Linked DNA regions of Homo sapiens: regions 1, 2 and 4 are each linked to region 3. Evidence: promoter capture Hi-C in 16 types of primary human blood cells and fetal thymus (Javierre and others, 2016). All regions are on one chromosome and are shown on one strand. Each heading gives the region's core, a stretch centred on a gene start or on the middle of the fragment in contact. The rest is flanking DNA. Distances are from core to core; before and after follow the strand shown.

Region 1 (2,700 bases), core at 66-2,565, 380 kb before region 3:
AAATAGATGAATGAATTCCTCAAAGAATCACAGCAAGTCATAGGAAGAGAAAGTTCTCCAGGATATCAAACAAAATTAGAATCAAATCACTTTTAAAGCACTGAATAGAAACCTTAAGAATCTTACTTAAATGAATAATATCAATGTATTATATTTTCCTTCAGAATAAATATGTGATTTCACCTAATGAGTACCAACCACTACTACCACTCATCATAGGTATTTCACAAAAAGGCCTACAGCATAACCCTCTGAGCCTTAAACTCTGTCCTATGTTATGATGACTTGTGAAAATAAAATGACAAAATGTTTTTAAATATCATTAAATAAATGAAAAGGATTGTCATCTAAATATAGACTATCCACCAGATTAATTCTGAAATAGGCTTTTAAGAAGAAAACTGTTGACTAAAATTATATACTAACAATAGTTTAATGAAAAGCATGGCTAAACCGGGCACAATGGCTCACGCCTGTAATCCCAGCACTGTGGGAGGCCGAGGCGGGCAGATCACCTTACGTCAGGAGTTAGAGACCAGCCTGGCCAACATGGTGAAACCCTGTATCTACTAAAAATACAAAAAAAGGCCAGGTGTGGTGGCTCACGCCTGTAATCCCAGCATTTTGGGAGGCCAAGGTGGGCAGATCACGAGGTCAGGAGTTCGAGACCAGCCTGGGCAACATGGTGAAACCCCATCTCTACTAAAAATACAAAAATTAGCCAGGTGTGGTGGTGGGCACCTGTAATCCCAGCTACTCAGGAGGCTGAGGCAGAAGAATCGCTTGAAAACAGAAGGTGGAGGTTGCAGTGAGCAGAGATCACGCCACTGCACTCCAGCCTGGGCGACAGAGTGAAACTCTGTCTCAAAAAAAAGTTAAAAAAAAAAAAAAAGCATGGCTGGTCAGTCTAACAATATAACATTTGCTATCTTTATAAATCAGCAAACCACTGACTTCATGTCTAAGTACTGCTTAAACATTTCCTACCCCATGGAGAAAAAATCACTCTTACCCTACATACAAGTCGCATCCCTTCTATATCTTCAGATGAGAGTAATTTAATCTGAGAAGTACCTTTAAGAGCCTGTTCAGATTCAGACATTCCTGGAATGAAAATTCGGTAAGTAAAACCAAAATGAATGCAAAGATGTAGTATTTATTTGCATAATTATAAACCTGTGGCATAAAAACAGTAGTCTCACTGTTTCACACAACAGTAATTCATGATTTGGGATGGTCTAGGTTAGATTTTTAAAAAAAAACATTTTCAACATCAAAGGGAAACTCGCTAAACCAACTGAAGAAAAAATTCTAAAAGATAAATTTTCAGACCTATTAGAAATCAGCCAATACTTATAGAGTACTTATTATATGCCAGGCCGTGTGATAATCAGACTCAGTAAATGATATACATTTGAAAAGTACCACAGAATTTACAAATTACTTTCATAATCATCTCATGAAGCAATTATACATCAACAACTGATGAATTAATTACACTATTTTCTGAAACAGGAACCAAAGTTAAGTGTTTTTCAATCTCCAGTTTGTGACCTTTTATTAGGCTACACTTAACATTTTTTAAAAGTAAATAAATGGGACAGAAAATATTAAAATGGCATAACAAAGTATTATACTCGTATTATACGGAGTAGGAATAAGTGCTGCCATGAAATCTTTATTTATATACACATACAAAGATCACGTTATAAAAGCCATTTCTGAGTCATACTCAAAAAAGTTTTAAAAATATTGCCCTAAAAATCTTCACTAATAAAATTTGTTAGCTTCAAGTTTTACATACATGAAAAGTAATAAAGCCAGGATAGCAATTAACTCAAAATCTAACAAAAATAATGTCAACTAATCTTATTTACAAGTACTAATGGAAAAATTCCAAATAAAAATATTAACAAACAGAATCCAAAAAAACTTAATACATCAGGATGCAAGTGAGATTCATACCAGAAGGCAAGGATAGTTCAATACTGACAAATCTATTCATCCAATTCATCATTCATAAATAAAGTAAAAGTAAATAATCATCTAGAAGGAAAGTTAATTCTGATAACATGGCCAGCTACCACCTTGACATGATAAATATAAATCTCAAACTGAGAACCAACATTACAGAATGCCCACTATCGGCACTATTATTTAACACTGTCCTGGCAATACTAGCAGATGCAATTAAACAAGAGAAAGAAATAAAACATATAAAACTAGAAAAGAAAGGACAAAATTCTTATCAATTTCAGATGTGATTATGTATCTCTAGAACAGAAGAATCACCTGGTAAATGACCATAAATACAAATTCAGCAAGTTGGCATATTGTTTAAGATAAATTTATCAAAATCAATAACTTTCCCACATACAAATAATCAGCTAAAAAATACAGAAGCTATTATGTACAAAAACAACTAAAAAGATGAAGTACCCAGGAATAAATTTAACAATAAAATCCCTACATGAAGAAAATCTGAAAACACCACTGAAAGACATAAAAGGAGTCAAATAAAACTTTAAAAACATACCCTGTTCCTGGACAGGAAGACTCAATATTGTAAAGATGTCAATTCTTCCAAAATTAATCTATAAATTTAATACTATCCCAATAAAAAAATGTCAACAGGATAATTTTGAGAACCAGACAAGCTGATTCTAAATTTCACATGGAAAAACAAACATGCAAGAATAG
Region 2 (2,700 bases), core at 2-2,501, 470 kb after region 3:
GAGGTGGACAGGCACTCATGAACCCTTAAAACCTTTTAAGCAACACAGGAGTCAAAAACTAAACCCAAAAGCAGGATTACAAAGTTGACTTATCTATAAAGTCTATGCATTGAGCTACTGTAATCTTGGTTTTAGTTAGATTTGTAGCAATTAGCTATATAAAACATATACATTTTGCTAAAACATTAAAGCTAAGGAATTTAGAGACTTTTGTTGTGCTGCAATGTGTTTTGTGGTCTCTTTAGCAATTTGTCCTAAAGTGGCCAATAAAATATTTTTTGTCATCTCTATTTGCATAAACTGCACAATTAGGAACAATTATACCCAGAAGGCTCTGTCACTGTTGTGAAAAGTAAAAAGTTCCTCTTCAAAGTTTCCCTTTTCGTTAAAGAATAAATAAGTGTTAGAAATAATAGTTTCTTTTAAAAACTAACTTCCTTCAAGCTTCCTTGCTTTTTGCTAATAACTCTTTGCTAAGCCCTGTGTAGCTGTTACATATAGTAAGGGAATAAGTACATTCTATGTCCTTGTACTTCAACCAAGTTATTTATTCTGGCCTATAACCTGCTCAGACGTATCTGAACATGCCCAGGCATTTCCTGGCTTACAGCCTACGCCCCTTCCTTATTTGGAAATGTTATTGTTCTCCTAGTTTCCCATAAACAACCCCCTTCCTTTCCTTGTTCTCTGTCGCACATTTGCCTGTTTAGGAAAGTTTTAAGTTTTTAGCTAATCGGGATCAGTCTAGATTGTGCAGTCCAGCTCCAGCCAATGGAGATAGGACACAGCAGTAAGGACCCAATGCGTCAGGAATAAAAACCTCTGCTTTTCTTTGTTCAAGGTGCTCTCGTGACAATCAGGCTTCCAAAAAGCACCCTTTCTGCAGAAAGTAAAATTGCCTTGCTGAGAAAATTCTTTGAGCGCTAGTTCTTCTTTTTGGCACCAAGGAACAAGCATTTATTTCTAACACTAGGTATCTTGATATCGTCTTGGTAATTCTCTTTTAAGCAAATAGACTAGCTTTTATCAGACCTACCCCCAATGTCAACAACAGCTTTAAAAGAAACTGAATGAAATAAAAAAATTTGGTTTGAAAATATCAGAGAACTAGGCAACTGGGAACTAGGAACCCATCAACCAAGATCTTGGAAAGAAGACACAGAAATTGAGATGATCCTAACAGTCTTTGTTATTTATCCCCTCAAGGAATTTGCTGATTGTGGGTGGTATAGAATGAGGGGATTAGAAATTAAACAGAAAGCCAGGCACGGTGGCTTACGCATGTAATCCTAGCCCTTTGGGAGGCCAAGGCAGGCGGATCACCTGAGGTCAGGAGTCAAGACCAGCCTGACCAACATGGAGAAACCCCATCTCTACTAAAAATACAAAATTAGCTGGGCATGGTGGCGCATGCCTGTAATCCCAGCTACTCAGGAAGCTGAGGCAGGAGAATCACTTGAACCCTGGAGGTGGAGGTTGCAGTGAGCCGAGATCATGTCATTACACTGCAGCCTGGGCAACAAGAGTGAAACTCTGTCTCAAAAAGAAAGAAAGAAAAAAAAGAAATCAAACAGAAAGCATTGACCAAGAGATTCATTAAGCAGAATTTTTATCAGTCTTATGATACTGGGGAGACAAAATTTGGAGTTCAGCATCCATCCAAGGCAAATGACTCTTGTAAACACTCCAGATTTTTTAGTGAAACCTATGGAAGGATAATCCTAGGAGTGGTGTAAACTGAAAATACAGAGCCATTGCAAAGACTAAAACTCAGCTGTTAGGCTGGGCATGGTGGCTCATGCCTGTAATCCCAGCACTTTGGGATGTAGAGGTGGGAGGATTGCCTGAGGCCAGGAGCTTGAGACCAGCCTGGGCAACATATCAAGACCATGTCTCTACAAAAAAATTAAATTAAATTAAGTTTAATTTTTAAAAAAGAAACTTAGCTTTGAATCAGTACCATCACAGAATATATTCAGGTGATCTAGCTCTATTTGACTGCCTACCAGAAAAATAAAAAGTAATCTCCAGAGAAAGAAAACATCATTGAAAGCTTCAAGTTATTACTACAACTTTTCATACACAATGCCCAATATTTAGTAGAAAATTGTAGGCATACCAGGACACAGAATAAATGACCACATCACAAGAAAAAAACAAAAACCGGCCAGTTATGATGCCTCATACCTGTAACCCCAGCACTTTGGGGAGCAGAGGCAGGAGGATCATTTGAGGCCAGGAGTTCAAGACCAGCATGGGCAACATAGGAAGACCCCACCTCTGAAAAAAATAAATTAGCTGAGTATGGTGGCACATGCCCGTGGTCTCAAATAAATAAATATATAAAAAGAAACAGGTGGCCGGGCACAGTGGTTCACGCCTGTAATCCCAACACTTGGGGAGGCCAAGGCGGGCAGATCACAAGGTGAGGAGTTCGAGACCAGCCTGACCAACATGGCGAAACCCCGCCTCTACTAAAAATACAAAATTGGCCGGGCATGGTGGTGTGCACCTGTAATCCCAGCTACTCAGGAGGCTGAGGCAGAAGAATCGCTTGAACCCAGGAGGCAGAGGTTGCAGTGAGCTGAGATTGTGCCACTGAGCAACAGAGTGAGATTCTGTATCAAAACAAACAAACAACAAAAGAAACAGGCAAACAAACACATAGAGATCCACATATTGTGTTTATTGCACATGGGC
Region 3 (2,773 bases), core at 204-2,703:
TGGGTACCTCGTTCATACTTGCGACCTCAATATAGCCTCAATCCTGCTGAAGCCCAGTACTATCTCTAAATGTGGTTTATTGCAGGAAAAAGTAGCTTCTTGACTAGCCAAAACTTGACTGCCGGTTGTCAACTAGCCAGTTTTTGAGAAAAGTGAGAGGTTGTTACGTAGGAAACCTTATAACTAGAGGCTCTCAAACTCAAGTATTTAAGTATCATCTTTTAGATTTCTGTGTCCAGGATCGGGTTGCACTGGGTGGTGCTGGAAAAATTTTTTGATCTCACCTCCTTCTAGCCTTTTGAATCCTTAAAAATATTCCCATAGACATTTATACACAGTCCTGGGCGGTTCTTCCTTCTCCTTCCGTGAAATACTGGTACCTGCTTTGCCAACACCTATGAAAGTGCTCCAGGAGGAGGGCGGATAAGCAACTAATGAGCACACCTGCTCAGGTAGGGTTCTAAAACAATTTCCAGCCACCTGTTCTATTCTTCCCCAGAGTTCAAAAGCTTAATGGTTCGTGATCCAAAAACCCAATTCAGATTCCCCAGAAGACCTCCCTGGAATCCGTTGTGGATTCCTTCCTAGAGTTAGGAGGCAAGCAGGTTTCTTAGGCACTATTCTGTCGGGGTAGGGGGGAGCGTGCGCTGTCCGGGTTTGTGTGGTTGCAATAGACCCTAGGGCGAGGATCGCATCCCGGGCCAGGACTCCCTTGAGCCATCTCTTTTTCCTCGTCCCCATTTCTAGGATAAAACCCATTTCTCCGGTAGGTGGGGAGGTTGGGTTAGAGTCACACAGGGATTCAGGAAGCTTTCCTTTTCAACGTCCCATCCCTTCATCCTTTCCTCCCACTTCCCGTGGCTCTTTTCTCCACCTTCCCCAACTACCCCCTTTTCCATTCAGCGAAGTCCACGACGACTTTCCTTCCCTGTCCAGTGGCATCGCATCTTCTCTAGCCACATAAGCCTGTTGTGGAGGAGGGGGCGCCAGTGTGGCTACCCTGGAAGGGGTGTCGGGGGTGGCTCGCAGGTCCTCACTCACCCAGCCCTCTCCCCGAGGAGCGACCCTCTCGCCCGCGTCCCTCCAGAGCTGCGCCGCTCATCAATCCCGGTCACTCTGCCAGCCTGCTCCCCGGGCGCCCTTCCTTCTCCCTCTCGCCTGCGGTCCTCCACCCTCCCACCCCCTACCTACCCCGCAGCGACGTTCGGGGTCAGCGGCGCTTGGGGTTGGCCCGAGAAGGGGCGGGGATAAAGCGAGCGGTGGAAGGAGGCGGCTACGTGGTGCCACCGCCGCCCGGGAGCGCCCGACCCCGTGCGCGCGCGCGCCTAGCCAAGGCTTGGGCGGCGGGCGGAGCTGCGGGCGGCGCGGGCGGAGGAGCAGCCGGCCGGGCGGGCGGAGCGAGAGGCGGGCGGAGCGAGGGGTGGGAGGGCGCGCGCGAACGGGCGGGCGAGCAAGCGAGCGGCGTCTCCACCAGCATCTGCCGCGGCCGCCTTTGCCCGAAGCCCGGGGACGAACCGACGGACCGACCGCCTGGCGCACGGACGCGGGCGCTCGCTTTGTGTTCGGGGCTAGCGTCGGCGAGGCTTGAGCTTGCAGCGCGCGGCTTCCCTGCTTTCTCGCGGCCACCCCGGCTCCGGCGGCCTCGGCGCGCGAGGGGCTGGAGGTGCGGGAGCCGCTCTCCGCCGGTCGGTCCCCGCGCGGCTGAGCCCAGGCCGCCAGCGCCGCGGCCCCGTGCGGTGTCCCTGAGCTCCTGCTCCCCGCCGGGCTGCTCCGAGCAACGGTGCTTCGGAGCTCCAAACTCGGGCTGCCGGGGCAAGTGTCTTCATGAACCCAGAGGATGTCCGGGAAGCACTACAAGGGTCCTGAAGTCAGTTGTTGCATCAAATACTTCATATTTGGCTTCAATGTCATATTTTGGGTAAGTTGGAGCGCTCCTGGGATTCCAACTATTGTGGCCGATCGATTCGCGACGATTTCCCCCACGTTGTTCGTTGCCTTTACTTTTCGCAGCCCCGCAGGCGCTTGCCGGAGCAGCATAGAGGCATTCGCCTTCCGCCTTTCCAGCTTGCGCGTTGGAGAGATAAACATTTAATCCTTTCGAGGAATGGGAAGAGGTGAAAAGAGAAATCGAGGCGGAAAGGGGGCACCGAGGCCTTCTGGTGGCTTTTTGAGGAACGAATAGCAGGGATGCAGATAAAAGAAAGGGTTCGGCAGTTTGAGAAATGAGCAACCACACGAATTGGATTTGCTCTCGGTGGGATATAGATGTTGGGCAGAGCGTGGTGTCATAATAGGGAAGGCTAATCGGGCACGGCCGACCCTGAGGTCCACCTTCTAACAACGATCTGATTGGACGAGGGCTTGGCTCCGTGTTGCCGCGGCTGGTCTGTGCCATGCTCAGCGTGTATCTTCTTGCACCATCTCGGGCTTTGTGTAGGATGCAGATGCCGTGGTATATGGTCCTGTAATTGCACGTAAATAACGTTTCCTGCACGCTCTCCTCTTCAGCTGGAAAGCGCTCCCTGTGCGTAATGGACTGGTCAGTGGGGGTGCGGGGTAGAGGGATTTATTTGTATGTATATATCATCGTCAGGATAATAAGTCACCGTCAACATATATTTCAGTGTGTTCCTGCCCCACGTCCTCATTTTTAAAGGAGTGACACAGAGCGGGCCGTTTGGGGGAACCTTTGTAGAAATGCAAAGGAGAAGGTGTGCGAGGCATGTTTTATTGGGGAACCGAGAGAGCAAATGCTTTAACACAAGATTCAAAT
Region 4 (2,830 bases), core at 148-2,647, 450 kb after region 3:
CTGGGAGGTGGAGCTTGCGGTGAGCCGAGATCGCGCCACTGCACTCCAGCCTGGGCGACAGAGCCAGACTCCGTCTCAAAAAAAAAAAAAAAAATTAGATTTCAAGAAACTTCCCATCCAAATTGCATATTGTAGCTTAACTTCAAGAACTTATTTTTAGGCCAGGTGTGATGGCTCATACCTGTAATCCTAGCACTTTGGGAGGGTGAGGTGGGAGGATTGCTTCAATCCAGGAGTTCAAGACCAGGCTAACCAACATGGTAAAACCCCATCTAAAAAAAAAAATACAAAAATTGGCTGGGTGCAGTGGCTCACACCTGTAATCCCAGCACTTTGGGAGGCTGAGGCAGACAGATCACAAGGTCAGGAGTTCGAGACCAGCCTGGCCAACATAGTGAAACCCCGTCTCTACTAAAAATACAAAAAAATTAGCTGGGCGTGGTGGTGGACGCCTGTAAACCCAGCTACTTGGGAGGCTGAGGCAAGGAGAATTGCTTGAACCTGGGAGGCAGAGGTTGTAGTGAGCCGAGATCGCACCATTGCACTCCAGCCCGAGTGACAGTGAGAGACTCCGTCTCAAAAACAAAACAAAACAAAACAAAAAAACCCACAAAAATTAGCCCGGTGTGATGGCACATACCTGTAGCCCCAGCTACTAGGGAGGCTGAGGTAGGATGATCACCTGAGCCCGGAAAGTTGAGGTTGCAGTGAGCCATGATCATGCCACTGCACTTCAGCTTGGGCAACAGAGTGAGAGCCCGTCTAAAAAAAACCCTTATTTTAAAAACATTAAAAACATTTTGATTTCTCATCTAATCATAATTTTGAAAGCATTATTGTCACTTTCCAATGATCATTATACTAACCAGTAAAATTTCAGTCTTTTCCTTTTACATCTCAGATGAAAACAGGTCTTCACATTAAAAAATATTTGCAGTCCTTCTAGCTGAAGTTTTTTCTTTCTTTTTTTTTTTTTTATCAGGCAGCATCCTGAGCCAGAGTAGGCTCAGAGAGACTCCAGGCTAATTGAGTATTAATTAATATACTGTTGCTAATAATCCATACTTTCTATATTAATAGTGAGGTTTATTATATATGAAATGTTACTCATAGTAGATATCATTCATTACTTAATAAATGAAACTTCACACTTACAAAATTGACAAAATAGGGAGCTAACACATTATCTGAAGTTAAGATATTTGCTGGAGGAATACAACATGTATTAGTCACCTATCTGTTCAGGTCCATTAACATATTTTATTTTATTTATTATTTTTTAATATTTTTAATTTTTAACATTTAAAAAGTATAAAAGGTAGGAGAATTCTGTGAAGAACCTGGACATACTCAGGCAAAACAGGATTCTGCAATAGAAAGAAATAATGAAAGAGCAGATCATGGAGTAGAGAAGGCATTGCTAAGGTCTGCCCAAATGTTCAAAAACCGAAGGCAAAAATTGCTGATCACTAGGTGCCTTGCTCATCTGGAATGCTATTATCTGACGATAGCCAGCAAACCACAATAATGATCACCATAGCAATCTTTTCCTTCTTGAAAGCTCTGGACTCAGCCAAATGGAGAATTTGTTTTCCATGGTAATACCTCTCCAATTCTGTAATTAAAATAACAAATATCATTTTGCCAAATTAGCTTTTCAGACAGTTATATAGAATCCCATCTGTCCTTAAAGAGTTGGGTACCTGAATAATCATTTTAATACTGTTTTAATACAATTGCTGGAAAAATAATAATTGTGTTTTGGCTGCAACAATCCACATTTATTAATTGAAGCTGCAATAATACTAGTGACATTGGCAGAGTAGGAAAAAAAAAACCCGTATGTTAGTTAGGCTGGTTCTGAATATCTGTTTTCTTTCCTTGTTAGTGTTTATCCACTTGGAGCTGAATGAAGCATAAAGGCCAAATGAGAATCTGGCAGTTATTCAACCAGAAAATGTCAACAAATCAGGAAGTTTTCATCTAGAAAACTTTGCCCAGAAATAGATGTTAGAAATAATGGCAAAAAATAAAGGTTAGAAAAAGCATGAAATGAGTTTGGACATCAAAAATTGACATGTACACCTATATACATTGTTTTATTCCTTGTGAAAATGTCGGGAATGTCATCATTTATTATTGGCTACATGTTAACAACTCAGGGTAACCTATCACAGTAGCAGAGATGAAAAGTACTCACGCTAGACTTAGGAGGTGGAAGTAATGGTCAGGAAAGTAGTGTATAAAAATGGTGAAAGAAAACCAACCACGGGAATGAGGGGTGGGTAAGAGACAAATAAGAAACTCTCCCTTGCAAACTACATATGACCCCAAGTCTATGCGAAACAACATTCCCATATATTCTCTGACCAGGGTTGCACCAAAAATGGGCCCATTGAAGACCAGTAAGAAAAAAATTACCAACTTCAGCTACTATTTTGCAATAATGCATGTTATATGGCGTAAATCTGAACTAAGCGTGCATCTGCTCACACAGCCTTAAAGCATATAAAATCCATAATAATATTACCATTCCACAACAAAAACATGGCCTGGCACAGTGGCTAACACCTGTAATCCTAGCACTTTAGGGCTGAGGTGGGAGGATCTCTTGAGCTCAGGAGTTCAAGACCAGCCTGGGCAACAAAGTGAGACCCTGTCTCTACAAAAAAATTTAAAAAATTAGCCAGACATGGTGGCATGCACCTGTAATCCCAGCTACACAGGAGGCTGAGGCAGGAGGATCACTTGAGCCCAGGACGTCAAGGCTACAATTAGCTATGTTTGTACTACTGTACTCCAGCCTGGGTGAGAGAAAGAGACCCTGTCT

Evidence for each region. The method cuts DNA at HindIII sites, captures the fragments that hold promoters and counts their contacts. A CHiCAGO score of 5 or more calls a contact.
Region 1: a contact is called between a fragment that was not itself captured here and the fragment with the promoter of TSPAN5 in region 3, in 1 of 17 cell types (erythroblasts). The highest score is 5.5, in erythroblasts.
Region 2: a contact is called between a fragment that was not itself captured here and the fragment with the promoter of TSPAN5 in region 3, in 1 of 17 cell types (total B cells). The highest score is 5.4, in total B cells.
Region 4: a contact is called between a fragment that was not itself captured here and the fragment with the promoter of TSPAN5 in region 3, in 1 of 17 cell types (total B cells). The highest score is 5.2, in total B cells.

The regions. Positions count from the first base shown.
Region 1 is chr4:99,037,778-99,040,477 of GRCh38, reverse strand. METAP1 (methionyl aminopeptidase 1) reads right to left here. Exons shown (of 11, transcript NM_015143.3): 5 at 1,013-1,104. Among named protein-coding and RNA genes, the nearest start is that of MIR3684, 42 kb to the right of the region's middle. The HindIII fragment of the contact is 4,344 bases long and covers 1-2,700 here.
Region 2 is chr4:98,191,845-98,194,544 of GRCh38, reverse strand. All of the region lies in intron 1 of LOC105377340 (a long non-coding RNA gene), which reads left to right. Among named protein-coding and RNA genes, the nearest start is that of STPG2, 50 kb to the right of the region's middle. The HindIII fragment of the contact is 1,609 bases long and covers 447-2,055 here.
Region 3 is chr4:98,657,291-98,660,063 of GRCh38, reverse strand. It overlaps TSPAN5 (tetraspanin 5), which reads left to right and starts at 1,453. Exons shown (of 8, transcript NM_005723.4): 1 at 1,453-1,918. The coding sequence starts at 1,838. It overlaps TSPAN5-DT (TSPAN5 divergent transcript), which reads right to left and starts at 1,162. Exons shown (of 3, transcript NR_148380.1): 1 at 1,042-1,162. LOC112267901 (a long non-coding RNA gene) reads right to left here and starts at 1,341. Exons shown (of 3, transcript XR_939016.3): 1 at 1,192-1,341. RefSeq lists silencers at 1,296-1,475, 1,729-1,888. The HindIII fragment of the contact is 4,978 bases long and covers 813-2,773 here.
Region 4 is chr4:98,209,554-98,212,383 of GRCh38, reverse strand. No RefSeq gene overlaps it. Among named protein-coding and RNA genes, the nearest start is that of RAP1GDS1, 50 kb to the left of the region's middle. The HindIII fragment of the contact is 4,901 bases long and covers 1-2,830 here.